Linked DNA regions of Homo sapiens: region 1 is linked to region 2. Evidence: promoter capture Hi-C in 16 types of primary human blood cells and fetal thymus (Javierre and others, 2016). All regions are on one chromosome and are shown on one strand. The core of a region is centred on a gene start or on the middle of the fragment in contact, and the rest is flanking DNA. Distances in the headings are between cores, read along the strand shown. Region 1 holds the start of LOC105376479 (a long non-coding RNA gene). Region 2 holds the start of MAP3K8 (mitogen-activated protein kinase kinase kinase 8).

Region 1 (7,351 bases), core at 649-3,148, 150 kb before region 2:
ATTTTGGGTTGCAATTTCAAAATAGTAAAAAGACTTTTTAAAAAATATTGTATTGATAAGCAAATGGGGTCACTGGGTGTGACAGGGCTGAGGGCCCTTGCAGTTGCAAAAGCTTGGACTTCCCAGCCAACCAGCCCTGGAAGGTTCTCCGTGGCCTCCCACTCCATTCATTCATTTGCAGGAGCAGCCCTTCATTGGGGGGATCCCAGGGGCTGCCCCTAGGGGCCCCTCTCATGCACCATCGGCATCAGGCCTTGATGCTTAGAAGCAGCCGGCTCTGAGTGAGTGTGGATGTGGCTGCCTTCCCTGCTGATCCCCAGGGAAATCCCCTAGCATTCCCCACTCACCTGAACTTGACTTTCCCTCCAGCCACAGGCCCTAAGAGAAGCCAATGATCTTCCTCCTCGCTGCCTGTCGCTGAGAGGGGAAGATCGCCAGGGGATCCAAGGCCAAAGCCCAGTGCTCTGGGGCAGTCCCAGCTGGGATCCCACTTCCTCATTTGCTCTCTTCCGTTCCCCTGCCAGCTAAGGTTGTCAGGCTTAGCAAATACATCTGCAGTATTTGAGATATGCTTCTACTAAGCCATGCGATGTTTAAGATATCTAATACAAAAAAAAAATTGTTGTCAATCTGAAACTCAAATTTAACCAGCATCCTGTATTTTCTCTGGCACTCCTACTCCCCATGCCTCTCTGGAGTTGAGAGGTAAGAGGCCAGCAGGGAAAGAGGTCTGGCAGTCACCTGCCTCAAACTTCGGCTGAAGAGGCAAGAGCTGCCCTGGGGGGCCTGTTGCTCTCTTCATTCCCAGAACCAAATGCTGTCCTCAAGTTATCCCCAGTCCCCCCTTCTCCTGAGTAAGGAGCATTATATTTAGGGTAGGAAAACACCAGTATGACTTTTATACTGATGATCTCCAAGATCTTCTAATTTTAAAGTGAAACAAGGAGATACATAACCTTTGTGATCCCAAGAGAATGGCTGCATGAAGCTGTATGGATTCCCTGATAATGCTAGTCTCAGAATCAGGGCACAATGGCAGGATCTTAGGGATCATCCGCTGCACCAGCCCATCTTACAGGTGAGCAAACTGAGGCCAGAAAAACCAAGTGACTTCCTCTTGAGTCCCAGAACAGCATTCTTTCTAGGCTGCTATATGAATAAGACAAAGGGGGGGGTCTTTTCTTCATGGAAGTCCCTTCTCTCTCACTAGAGCGAGAGCTGTTTTCCTTTCTCTGTCTTTTGCCTATTAAATCTCTGCTCCTAAACTCCTGTGTATGTCTGTGTGCTAAATTTTCTTAGCACAAGATGATGGACCCAGGTATTTACCACAGACAACATAGCTGCTTCACTGACATGTCAGCAAAAGGGACACAACTGGAGATACTGGTTATTTTACCAAGGCTTTGACTGGAATGGTGAAATTTGCTTTAAGGAATCAAACTTGACTTATAGAGCCAATACAAGCTCCTTGGGAAAACTGGCCTCACACCTTGTCTACACAGTCCCTGTACAGGGTTCCTGACCTTTGGCTGACACAGCAAGAAAGCCCTCACCAGATGCTGATCCCTCAGTCTTGGACTTCTCAGCCAACAGAACCATGAGCAAATAAATTTCTGTTGATTATAGATGGAAAAAAAAAAGGCAAAGGGGATCCTACATTACAGTCCCAGTGGGCAAAGCAGTCAGCCCCTAAACTTCCTATGCAACTCTTGAATCTCCAAAAAAGTTATAAGCAGATGCATCACAAAGAAAACTCTGTCTATGGGGCAATAATCAGCTATCAGCAAATCTTGATACTTTGAAGGTGGAACCCAGGGACTGTGGAAATAAATAAGGATCTTCTAATTCTAGATTTTCTTGAAGGCAAAAACTTTGTGAGGCTTACATAAAATGTGTGACATGGAGTACATGCCCTCTGCTTTCAACAGTGAGGGTCTCTTCAATCTTGTACTAGTCCCTGGAGGGCTTTAGCACCCTCCCAGTGGCTAACTTACGACATTGTATTTCCTAGAATCTAGGCAGGTGTCTCAACCTTAGTGCTGAATAATTCTTTCTCACAGGGCACTGATAATTCTGTGTCTTGTAGAATGTCTAGCAGCATCCCTGACCTCTACCCATTAGATGCTGGCTGCATCCCCACTCAGTGACATTCAAAAATGTCTTCTAAACATCTGCACTAATATGTTTATCACAGCTCTATTCACAATAGCAAAGATATGGAATCAACCTAAGTGTTTAGCAATGGAGAATTGGACAAAGAAAATATGATATATATATCATTATACTATATATAGAATAATTATATATTATTGTACATATAATTGTATATAAAATATTTAACTATTATATATAATATATTAATATAATATAGTATATATAGTGTATACATAGTATAACATATAGTATATATTTATATATTATATTTATATATTATAGTAATATAATAATATATAATATATAATTATTATGTATATAATATAATATATTGTTTATATAATGTAATATATTAAATGTTATTATATATTACATAATATATTATGTACATGTATACTAATATATAATATATTATATAATTATATATAATATATACACACATCATGAAATACTATTCAGCCATAAAAAAGAATGAAATCATGTCTTTTGCAGCAACATGGATGGAACTAGAGGCCATTATCCTAAGTGAAATCACTCAGAAACAGTCAAATATGGAATGTTTTCATTTATAAGTGGGAGCTGAAGAGTGGGTACACATGGACACACAGAATAGAATCACAGATATTGGAGACTACAAAAGGTGGGAGGGTTGGAGGGGGTGAGTGTTGAAAAATTACCTATTGGGTACAATGTTCACTATTCAGGTGATAGGTACACTAAAAGCTAAGACTTCATCACTATGCAAAATACACATGTAAGAAACCTGCACTTGCACCTCTCAAATACCTAGGAACAAAAAATAAACTTAGGCCGAGCTGGGGGTGGCTCACATCTGTAGTCCCAGCACTTTAGGAGGCCTAGATGGGTGGATTGCTGGAGCTCAGAAATTCGAGACTAGCCTGATCAACATGGCAAAACCCCGTCTCTACCAAAAATGCAAAAATTAGCCAGGTGTGGTGGCTCACGCCTGTAATCCCAACTGCTCAGGAGGCTGAGGCAGGAGGATTGCTTGAATCTGGGGAGGTGGAGGTTGCAGTGAGCCTTGATCACGCCACTGCACTCCAGCTTGGGTGACAGAGTGAGACCACAACTCAAAAAAAATTGAAATAAAATATATAAAATTTTAAAGTCTTCAAGCCTGGCATGGTGGGACACCTCTGTAGTCCTAGCTACTTGGGAGGCTGAGGCAGAAGGATCACTTGAACCCAGGAGTTGGAGGCTGCAGTGAGCCAAGACCCTCTCTCTAATTAATTTTTTTTTAAAAAGTCTTCAGACATTACTTATTGCCCTCTGCCCATTGAGAATCACAGATCTGAAGCATTGGACCAGTTCTTGCTGTACTGCTGAGTATGACATCCTGCCTGGGTCCTTGTGATGGCCAAAGAAACACACTTGGTTCAGCCTCACCAGTGAGTCCTTCAGGCAAAACTCAAACCCCAATACTCCAGCTGTCAGGACCAACACCCAGATGTGCCTGAGGAGACACGATCATCTCAGTGGAAGTCTTTGCACACAGCCACCAAAAGCTTATAGCCTGGTAAACCCATCTGCTCACATCACTGGCCACAAAAGCAAGTGCGAGCTACAGACTCCATTGGAAGCAATCATCTCTGGCCTCCTCTATGTCTTCCATTGCCCAAGACCCTGGACACCTCGCTCCAGACCACAGCTGCACAACTGCCGCTGCGCTTTTCATTTTGGTCACTCTCCAGATGGTCCGTCTAGCTTCTTGGCCTGTAACATTCTCATATCTAAGCCCTCCTTCTGGCTACTGTGCCTCCTTTGACTCAAAGGAGAGACTCCTTGCTCCTGTCCCAGCCAGCCACAACTCCCCGAAAAGCAAGGGTGTGTGGGATTCAGACAGAGTTTAAGAAACCAGCAAGAGTACACAGGTGCCCCAGCAGTTTCCATTCCTGACACCGGTAAACAAATCCAGAGGTTCCTTCTGAGCTTCCCACTCGGCTTCAGAAGGGCCACCGGGACTGGGAACAGCTCCAAGAGGAAGAACGGAGGGGAAATGAGAAGAATGTTTGTATTGTTTCATGTTTCACAAAGACCTGTCAGGGTGAGCAGTAACCCACGCCAACAGGGCTTAGTCAAGCAACCAGTACCGGCCAACGGACAGTGAAACTGAAAGGAAAACTTGCAGAGCTTTCGTGGAAAGTCCATCAGTGAGAATGTCCTGGATGAATACGGTGTAAACTGTCTCCCAGGCCCTGTTTCATTTTTCCTTAGATGTCAATGGGAAACCACACATTTGCAGAATCAATTGTTTCTGCTTTCTAGAAGAAAGCGTCCTTTGAGATTAGCAGCATAACAATAAATACGTAATTAAATAAATAAGGAAAAACAATTCACAGGTTCCAAGGATTAGAAGGACAAAAAATAAATAGTGGCTGGATGTGGTGGCTCATGCCTGTAATCCCAGCACTTTGGGAGGCTGAGGCGGGTGGAGACCATGAGACCAGCGTGGTCAACATGGTAAAACCCCATCTCTACTAATAATACAAAAATTAGCTTGGCATGGCAGTTTGCACCTGTAACCTCAGCTACTTGGGAGGCTGAGGCATGAGAATTGCTTGAACCCGGGAGGTGGAGGCTGCAGTGAGCCAAGATTGCACCACTGCACTCCAGCCTGGGTGACAGAGTGAAACTGGGTCTCAAAAAAAAAAAAAAAAAAGACAAAAAATAAATAAGAAGAATAAATTAAAAAATAATAAAAGAAAGAGATTAGCAGGGTGGAAGCAGACGGCACAGAGAAGAGGGGGCACCGGCCCCCAGATGGGCTGTGGGAGCAATGCCAAGGTTGGAGGTGGTGGGAGAAAGGCGGAATCTCTATAGCCTGATAGAGGTTGAAGATGCTTTTGCAAAGCTAGTGTACTTAATTAATTGCGGGAAACAAAGGGTCTTTCTGATCCATACAAAGTATACTTTCATTGGGTAACCTGATCATTAAAAGAGATTTCAACTAAGACAGATGATGAGGACCTTCCAAAAGTCAGTCACTCGACAGACGTCCAAAGTGCCAGTGCCCAGTAAGAACGCACGCTGTCTCGCCCAGGTGGCATGAAACGCCATGAGGCCCTGGAACAAGGGTTACAATTATTTTCTTCTTTAAAAAATTTTTTATTTGTATAAATGTATGTGGTGCAAGTGTAACTTATTACAGGGATATATTGCATAGTGGTAAATTCGGGGCTTTTAGTGTATCCATCACCCGAATAATGTACACCGTACCTATTAAGTAATTTCTCATCACCCCCCTTCCTCTAAGTCTCCAATCTCTATCATTTCACACTCTATGTCCATGTGTGTACATTATTTTATTATTATTATTTTTTGAGACAGGGTCTTTCTCTGTTGCCCAGGCTGGAGCACAGTGGTGTGATCACAGCTCACTGAAGCCTCAACTTCCCAGGCTCAATCAATCCTCCAGCCTCAGCCTTCTGAGTAGCTGGGACCACAGATATGCACCGCCATACCCCAAAGAGATGGGGTTTTGCCATGTTGCCCAGGCTGGTCTTGAACTTCTGGGCTTAAGTGATCTGCCCGTCTTGGCCTCCCAAAATGCTGGGATGACAGGTGTAGCCACCGTGCCCAGCCCTGCACACATTATTTAGCTCCCACTTATAAGTGATCTCAGCCCTTGTTGCTGCTGTTTCTTGAGAAGGGAAATTGAATTTCTAATATGCAGGGGATCTCTTCCCTAATTTCCTGCACTGTTATGGAGTCTTTTCTGTTTTTCATATTTCTTCATCAATTCATCGGAGGTCTAGAAAGGAGATGCCTTGGGCTATCATTTTACTCAGAAACTGTCTTTTTTTTTTAATCTTTTATCAAAATTCCTCTCTTGTCTGTTGACTTCTGGGTAGAATCCCAAGCTCACAGGACAGACTACATGGATCATTAGATTTAGCCAAAAAGAAAAAAGGACTTGTGCTGGAAAGTCAGGAAAACAGACTGAAGGGCTATAGCAGGAGGATGTGGGAGGTAGCTAGGGCCCCCTACTGGCCAAAGTGGGGATAATGTAAAAATCAAACCAAGTGGTGTAGAACAAGAATCCATGAGTTCATATTGATATAAACGAATAAATGAAAAATAAATAATAAATTGATTAGGGAGAGGGAAACCCTTCCTTATAGCAGCGTGCAAGCTGATAAATGTGGAAAGAATGAAGGAATTAGAAATGTATTAATACCAAATGCTGGGCCAGGCACGGTGGCTCATGCCTGTAATCCCAGCACTTTGGGAAGCTGAGCCGGCAGATCACGAGGTCAAGAGATCAAGACCATCCTGACCAACATGGTGAAACCCCGTCTTTGCTAAAAATACAAAAATTAGCTGAGTGTGGTGGCATGCGTCTGTAGTCCCAGCTACTCGGGAGGCTGAGGCAGGAGAATCGCTTGAACCCAGGAGGTGGAGGTTGCAGGGAGCTGAGATCGCGCCAGTGCACTCCAGCCTGGGCGACAGAGCGAGACTCCATCTCAAAAAAAAAAAAAAAAAGCTAAACCTGGTGGGTGAAGTTTTGATACGAGCAAGATATTTACTTAGTCTCAAAGTATTGCTCCACAAGTTACTTTTTAATTTTTTTTGTGTGTGTGTGTGTGTGACAGGGTCTGTCTCTGTTGCCCAGGCTGGAATGTAGTGGTGAAAATATGGCTTATGGCAGCCTCGACTTCCTGGGCTCAAGTGAATCCTCCTGTCTCAGTCTCCCAAAGTAAAGAGGTTACAGGCATGAGCCACTGCGCCAGGCCTACTTTAAATTATAAGGGAAAAAAATTAGTGACTTTATTTGGAAGAAAGCTAACGAACACTACCTTTACACAAAAGAAGATTTTTTGGCTTGATAAGGTGATAAGGTGAGCAAAAGGCCAGGTGGAGCTTAGAAAAATGTATAAGAAGGGTTGCATCAGTAAGGACTTGTAATTAAATCTCTGAAAATAGCAGAAAAACAAATTAAACAGAGGCCTCTTCCCTCTGGCGCTCCAGATAATTGAATCTTGCTGCCCAAGCAAGCTGAAACAGGGCAGCATGGAATAAAACCACTTGGCATGTGGGTAATTCTGTTATTTCCAAAGGACTTTCCCAAATATCATCTTGCTTTATGCTATTTCTCACAGCAATTCTGTGATGCAAAGCAGCTATCTCCCGTGTAAGCCATCTCCTGATTTACATATGAGCACACTCAACCCAGAGG
Region 2 (7,268 bases), core at 660-3,159:
AATTGGAGAGATGTGCAAATACAGTCAAAATTAGTTACACTGAATTATTTCAGAAATCAGCAATAAAATCACGAGGAAATTCTCTTCCTAAACATTAACATAATACTCTTGGCTGCCTCCATATACAGAAACAAAATGTGAGTGTTTCCTGGCAAGTGTGAATGAAAATGGCCAGCATAACAGCATATGCTTCTGCCTAACAAAGAATGACTATTACTTGTGTTATTTCTCATTTAAAATATTTTTTTAGGCCGGGCACAGTGGCTCATGCCTGTAATCTCAGCACTTTGGGAGGCCAAGGAGGGTGCATCACCTGAGGTCAGGAGTTCAAGACCAGCCTGGCCAACATGGTGAAACCCTGTCTCTACAAAAATTAGCCGGGCGTGGCGGCGGGCGCCTGTAATCCCAGCTACTCGGGAGGCTGAGGCAAGAGAATCGCTTGAACCCGGGAGGTGGAGGTTGCAGTGAGCCGAGATCGCGCCATTGCGCTCCAGCCTGGGCGACAAGAGTGAAACCCCCTCTCAAAAAAAATTTAAAAATTATATATACATATATACATATGTGTGCCAAAATAGTACATTCTCCCTCAGGGCACATTTCTGACTATGTTTTTGCTCTCAAAAAGCCCCGGATTATGCGTTTCAGGCGTATGGAAGGAAGGACCGACACTCTGCTTCAAAACCTCTACATGCCTCAACGTTCCCATTTGCTTTACACGACAAAGTCCTCATGGGCCGTATGCCAGACGTCCTGCACACAAACCTCAATCCGTCGCAGAGAGCTGGGGGCGTCAGCTGGAAGTGGATTACACTCTCCTTGGCACAAACGACTCAGGCCACAGGTATGTAAAGCAACTGCAAGAGCCTTTCTGTCCCTGTTTTTTATCAAGAGCAGCCTTTAATCTTGTCTTCCCAAAAGTGAAATAGACAAGCATCGCAACGTTTCTCTCTTACAGGCAGCCGGTGGCCTTCCCCTGTTAACTATGGAGACAATCCCTAGGCGTCCTTCTCCGCCCAGAGCTAGAAAAATTTCAGAGTCCTGATCATGCACTATCGCTCGAAAACAACTTCCGTGAAAATAACTTTTTTTTTCTCCTAGTATTCTTTCTTAGACCAAAAGCCCAGCCTTCGTGTTCTGCTATGACCTCTTTAGTCATGGGATAGAGTCCGGGTTACAAACTTGAATTTAGTTCCAGCCATTCACAAGTCTCTGGGCTCCGCCAACCCACACTCCCACTCCTTTCCTCCTGGTTCTCTAAGTCAAGGGAGCCTAAAAGGCTTATAAATTATCAAAGCACCCAGCATTTGGGAGGATCGGGTCCTCCAGCCTCCGAGCTGCACTCACCGGGTCTCGGGCAGGGAGAGTGCGGCCGTCCAGGCGGCGTCGGCAGCGGGAGGCGCAGTGACAGCGGGTCCCCGCTTCCCCGCGCACTGCCCAGACCAGCACTGCCCTGGCGCTGCGGATACGGGAAGGAGGAGGAAGGGGGAGGAGTCGCGAGTCTGCACCCCGTGAGACCCTTGCGCAAGGTGCTTTCCAGCTGTGCCTGGTGCAGCCGGCGACCCGCGAGCGCAGCTGTGGGCACGCCCCCACCTCTTCCCACGCCAGAGTTTTCCCCTCTGCTGGGGGCACCCTCCATTTCTGCATGGGAATCCCCGGGGCACCCAGGCGGGACGCGACCCGAAAGACACGCCGGAGACCCCCAACCCTGGATTACCTGCGGCCTTGGCGCTCCCACGCCGGCCGAGCGCTCCAGCCGCGGCCCCCCGAAGGTTCGGTGCGATGCTGGCTGCAGGCCTGTGGGAGCCGAGCACGCCGGGCCACTGGGATCCGGCGGCGGCAGCGGCAGAAGCAGGAACCAGGGCGCCGGACCCCAGAGCGTGGCGCGCAGTCCAGAGCGGAGCGGACGAGTGAGACCCGCGTCGCCCGCACGCTCAGACCGCCCTGCTCTGCCCCTGACTCACGGCGTCTGAGCCTGCCCAGGGGCGGCGCAGCGGACGCCAGCCACCGCCTCCCCGACTTTTCCATTTCCCCTTTCTCTCCGTAAACAGAAAGAGACTGCCCGGTTGCAGGGTAAGCCAGAGCCCCCGCGCTGGGAAATTCCGCGTCTCCCCCCCACCCGCCACCCCGCCGCCCCTCATTTGCCCTCTGGGCGCCCGGGCGGAGCTGGAGGCGGGACTAGGGAGGAGCAGAGCGGCGCGCAGGGAGGAGCGCGGGACGTGAGCTGCGGCCCGAATCGAGAGCCTGGGACGGGGACGAGTTTTCCCCCGGGCCTGGTGACCCAAGGCGTCTTAGTGGCGGAGTTGCAAGAGGTGGTTGTGCCCTTCCCGGTCCCCAGGGAAGGTCGTATATCTTAGTGTACTCGCGCCCTCGGCGCTTCTCTGGAGTCCCAGGGTCCGGCGGGAGGGCACGCTCCCGGGGGGCGGCGGGGAGGGCAGTCACCAGACCTTTTTCCGCGCGCCCCACGCTCTGGGGTGGGGACAGAGGCGCCGTGTGCCCTCCCAGCAGTGCTGCGGGAAGCCGGGGAAGCTTCGGGGCTTCTTGGAACCGCGACTGTGGGTCCGATTGCTAGTAGCACGGCCCCGCCTCGCCCAGATTTCGCTTCAAATTCACACACAAAGAGGGCAGTGACCCGTGGTGCGCACGCACACATTCCAACTTAGAGATTTCCAAGAGGCTGCGGCAGGGTGGGCCCGGAACCTGGTTGTTGGGCGCTCGGCTGGGAGCCTGTGCACTCCGCCAGCAGAACCTGGTTTTCTTCTCTGCAGTCTTTATTAAAATTGGTTATTTTGCGGCACCGCCTCATTAGGAAGCGTACTTGTACTATCTCCCCGCTCCCGCCTACCGCTAACCCTCAGTCCTAGCTGCTCATCTGGGGTTTTCCTTCTAGAGTGTCAAGCTTTTACTCCAGGTGTAACCGGAAGAGAGTTCTAGAGAAAAGCGCCACTCTCCCGAAATCCACTCTGCGGGACATTCCCAATGCCCCGCCACCCCCTCCCCCTACATTTCCCACGTATCAAGCACCCACTAGGAACCAGGCATTCGGCTAGAGCGCGGAGAGCTAGGAGCCATGTAAGGTCGACATCCTCTCTCTCTCTCTCTCTCTCTCTCTCTCTCCCCCCCCACCTACGGCCCAGGAGGTGGGGTGTCCCAGGCACAACCCAGATTCAAACGCGGTCACACTCCAAGTCCACGCCCTATTCTTCCCAGTGCCCAGGTCCGTGCTCCCTCTGCAGTTTCTAGATTGCCTCCGCGCGGTTGCGCACGCCTGTAATCCCAGCGCTTTGGAGGCCGAGGCGGGAGGATCACTTGAGGTCAGGAGTTGGAGACCAGCCTGGGCAACATAGCTACCCCGTCTCTACAAAAAATCTAAAAATTAGCCAGGCATGGTGGCTCACGCGTGTCATCCTAGCTCCTCGGAAGCTGAGGTAGGGGGATCCCTTGAGCCCAGCAGTTCGAGTCTGCCGTGAGCTATGATTGCGCCATGGCACTCCAGCCTGGGCGACAGAGCGAGGCCTTGTCTCAAATTTAAAAAATAAAATAAAACAAAAAAATTTTTGAGACTGAGTTTCGTTCTTGTTGCCCAGGCTGGGGTGCAATGGAGCGATCTGGGCTCACCACAACCTCCGCCTCCCTGGTTCAAGCGATTCTCCTGCCTCAGCCTCCCGAGTAGCTGGGATTACAGGCATGCGCCACCACGCCCGGCTAATTTTGTATTTTTAGTAGAGATGGGGTTTCTCCATGTTGGTCAGGCTGGTCTCAAACTCCCGATATCAGGTGATTCGTCCGCCTCAGCCTCCCAAAGGGCTGGGATTACAGGCGTGAGCCACCGCGGCCAACCAAAAATAAAATTTAAAAAAAAAATTTGCCTTGTACCTTCTCTAGAGCCCTCCACATTTCTGCTATGGAAAATGAATTACAATACAACCCGAGGATGTATTGAGAGAATTGCTGGAGGAGATAGGTTAGTTGAGGTGACAAGCCAGGGGCTTTTTGCAGGACCTTAACTCGCAGACAACAAGCCCAGGTAGCAAATCCAACGTCGAGGGCCGATTGACTGAATGGGCACTGTCATCCGTCAAGTTATTTTAAATACGAGAGCGATTTAATTTATATTCATTCACCTCATGAAGCAGGGCTTTGCCATTCCCTCCAAATATCCAGGCAGTCCCTTGCACCTAGAGGAGAACCCCTTCCTGAACCCTCCGCCTTTCTGATCTTGGAGGGAGGGAAGGCAGCTTCCACCAACCCGGCAGCACTGACCCGGCAGAAGCAGCCTGGGCCGGGGTTGGGGAGGAGAAGCCCCGCTCGCTTGCGCGCCGGATGGGTGGAATTTGGCACTGGCTCAAGCGGGTTATCCCAGTCTCAGCTGAAGCCGAAGTTATCAGTACACTTTTGGCCTTTTCGCTGGAAACCAGGTTAGCACAGGTTGTTACCTCTGATTGTAACGTGAGAAACAGAGACGTCTCTTTCTCTACTGCCGTGTTTAGACAACAAAGGATGATCTTTACACGAGTTTTAAAAATAGAACCATGGAACCACTCCCCTCCCCACCCGCCTTGTGTGAGCTCATTAAAACCACACCTAATCTTCTGGGAACTGCATTATTAGCCTTACTTCCTACACAGAAGTCTCCCAAATATAGCTGCATTTTAGGGAGCTGGTGAAATGGCTGGTCTAGCAGGGTTCTCTCTTGCTTCTGGCTTAATCCAGAGCAGGTTCATCTGTTGGGGTAAATTAGAAGGTTTTACTTGAAAACGTATGTAGAGTTTTTAACAAGGAGGCCAAAAGGGAGAGAGCAACTGAAAAGAAAGAAAAAGTCTGTGGACTCCCTGTATGTATGTATGTATGTATGTATGTATGTATGTATGTATGTATGATGTATTTGAGACAGGTTCTGGATCTGTCGCCCTGGCTGGACTGCAGTGGGGCGATCTCAGCTCACTGCAACCTCCACCTCCCTGGCTCAAGTGATCCTCCCACCTCAGCCTCCCAGATAGCTGGAACTACAGGCGCATGCCACCACACCCGGCTAATTTTTGTATTTTGGGTAGCGTTAGAGACGGGGTTTTGCCATGTTGCCCAGGCTGGTCTCAAATTTCTGAGCTCAAGCGATCTGCCCGCCTCAGCCTCCCAAAGTACTGGGATTACAGGCGTGAGCCACCTTGCCTAGACTCCTTGCATTTTTCTGGTCTGGCTTTTTGTTTTTTATGCAGGCTTACAAAAACAATCCTGCTCTTCTAGGGGCGAGCTAAGTGAGTTTTAAACCTACCAATGAGAAGTCCCTTGAGCCACAGTGCACACAACCATAGGGGGTTATTCTGGAAGTGATCCTAAAGCACATTACGAAACAGCTCTCTAGAAGCTGTTTGAAGCAAGCAAAATGCATTTGCAAATAAGGCTGTAACCGATTGCAGTTTACCTGAAGAAGCTTGCTCCATCTCATAGGTTGGGACATTAATGGGTTTGTAATTTGTAGTTTGGAAATCCAAATTATTTTACTCACAGAAAGAAAATTATTAACAATGGGTAGGTAACCCTGTTGGCCCATTAACCGATGTAACCACAATTGTGCTCTAGACTAATTAATATGATATGGGGCATTGTTTCTCAGTTTTTTATATTCATAAAATATGGAATTTTGTGAATAAAATAACTGCAATAAATTGGGAGCATAGCTATAGGTCACTTGGCGAAAATATGTTGTTTTTTGTTAAAAAAAAACAATAAAATACAAAGTATTGAAAGTAGATAATTTGAATAAAGCTTTAAATGAGATATTTTTAAAGTTAAGAGGAACTTGAGCCTGATTTCATGATCATAACTTTTTCTTTATGGTTTCATGTTGAAACAGCTATACAGATTAAGAGTTTCAACAACAACTTCTTTATACTTTTGATAATAACTTTCAGGTGAGAAGCTGTACAGACACGTAGGTAATACATTTACAACTATTATTATTGTCTTAAATTGTGAACAATTTGAAATTGGATTCTAAAAATTCAGTATCTCTTTTTTTTTTCATTGATATGTGTAAGTTTCTTATGATAATGTGAGTGGATTTCAGATATAATTGAAGTTTTTCTGGCCGGGTGTGGTGGCTCATGCCTGTAATCCCAACACTTTGGGAGGCGAGGCAGGTGGGAACACCTGAGGTCGGGAGCTTGAGACCAGCCTGACCAACATGGTGAAACCCCATCACTACTAAAAATACAAAAATTAGCCGGGTGTGGTGCCTCATGCCTGTACTCCCAGCTACTTGGGAGGCTGAGGCAGGAGACTCACTTGAACCTGGGAGACAGAGGTTGCAGTGAGCTGAGATCGTGTCATTGTACTTCAGCCTGGGCGACAAGAGTGAAACTCCATTTCAAAAATAAAAAATAAAATAAAAATAATTAAAGTTTTTCTGGTTTTTTTTCCCTTTTCTTTCTTTCTTTTTTTTTTTTTCCAGACACAGTCTCACTCTGTCGCCCAGGCTGGAGTGCAGCGGCACGATCTCAGCTCACTGCAAGATCTGCCTCCCGGGTTCAAGCGATTCTCCTGCCTCAGCCTCCGGAGGAGCTGAGATTACGGGTGCATGCCACCATGCCAGGCTAATTTTTGTATTTTTAGTAGAGATGGGGTTTTGCCGTGTTGGCCAGGCTGGTCTCAAACTCCTGACCTCATGTGATCCACCCACGTCAGCCTCCCAAAGTGCTGAGATTACAGGTGTGAGCCACCACATCTGGCAATTTTTTTTATATTAAGAGTTTCAAGCAGGACATGGTGGCTCACACCTGTAATCCCAGCACTTTTGGAGGCCAGGGGAGGATTTCTTGAGCCCAGGAGTTCAAGACCAGGTTGGGCAACATGGCAAAATCCTCTCTCTACAAAAAAAAAAAAAAAAAAATTTAAAACATTAACTGGCCATGGTGGCACGCACCTGTAGTCCAAGCTACTCGGAAGGCTGAGATGAGGCAGAAATTTAAAAATAAATATGCATTCATTCACTGTAAGAAAAGTAACAGGCACGGCAAAGGTTAAAAAGAAAAGAACAAGTTTCAAGTTTTCCTCTGCCTAGCAAGCTCACTTCAAGAAGAGTTATAAGATAATGCTGTCCAGAAAGCCAAGGACAAAGGAATGGGCTCCAGACAACACCCCCCTCCAGAGAAAGGTTGAAGGAAAAAAAAAAAAAGAAGAAAAAGACAAATTCTTTTACTGTTACTCCTTTCCCTGGTTTCTTAAGCATGATTATGTTTTACAAATCTCTGTATTTAGCCAGTTCTTATTTT

What was found. Contacts are between HindIII fragments. The CHiCAGO score rates a contact against its expected background, and 5 or more counts as called.
Region 1: a contact is called between a fragment that was not itself captured here and the fragment with the promoter of MAP3K8 in region 2, in 2 of 17 cell types (monocytes and megakaryocytes). The highest score is 7.6, in monocytes.

Annotation. Positions count from the first base shown.
Region 1 is chr10:30,580,783-30,588,133 of GRCh38, reverse strand. It overlaps LOC105376479 (a long non-coding RNA gene), which reads right to left and starts at 448. Exons shown (of 4, transcript XR_930794.4): 1 at 348-448. The HindIII fragment of the contact is 3,568 bases long and covers 115-3,682 here.
Region 2 is chr10:30,428,825-30,436,092 of GRCh38, reverse strand. It overlaps MAP3K8 (mitogen-activated protein kinase kinase kinase 8), which reads right to left and starts at 1,909. Exons shown (of 9, transcript NM_005204.4): 1 at 1,715-1,909. RefSeq lists enhancers at 408-945, 1,070-1,119, 1,410-1,509, 2,230-2,369, 3,041-3,922 and 3 more and a silencer at 1,950-2,189. The HindIII fragment of the contact is 9,039 bases long and covers 1-2,528 here.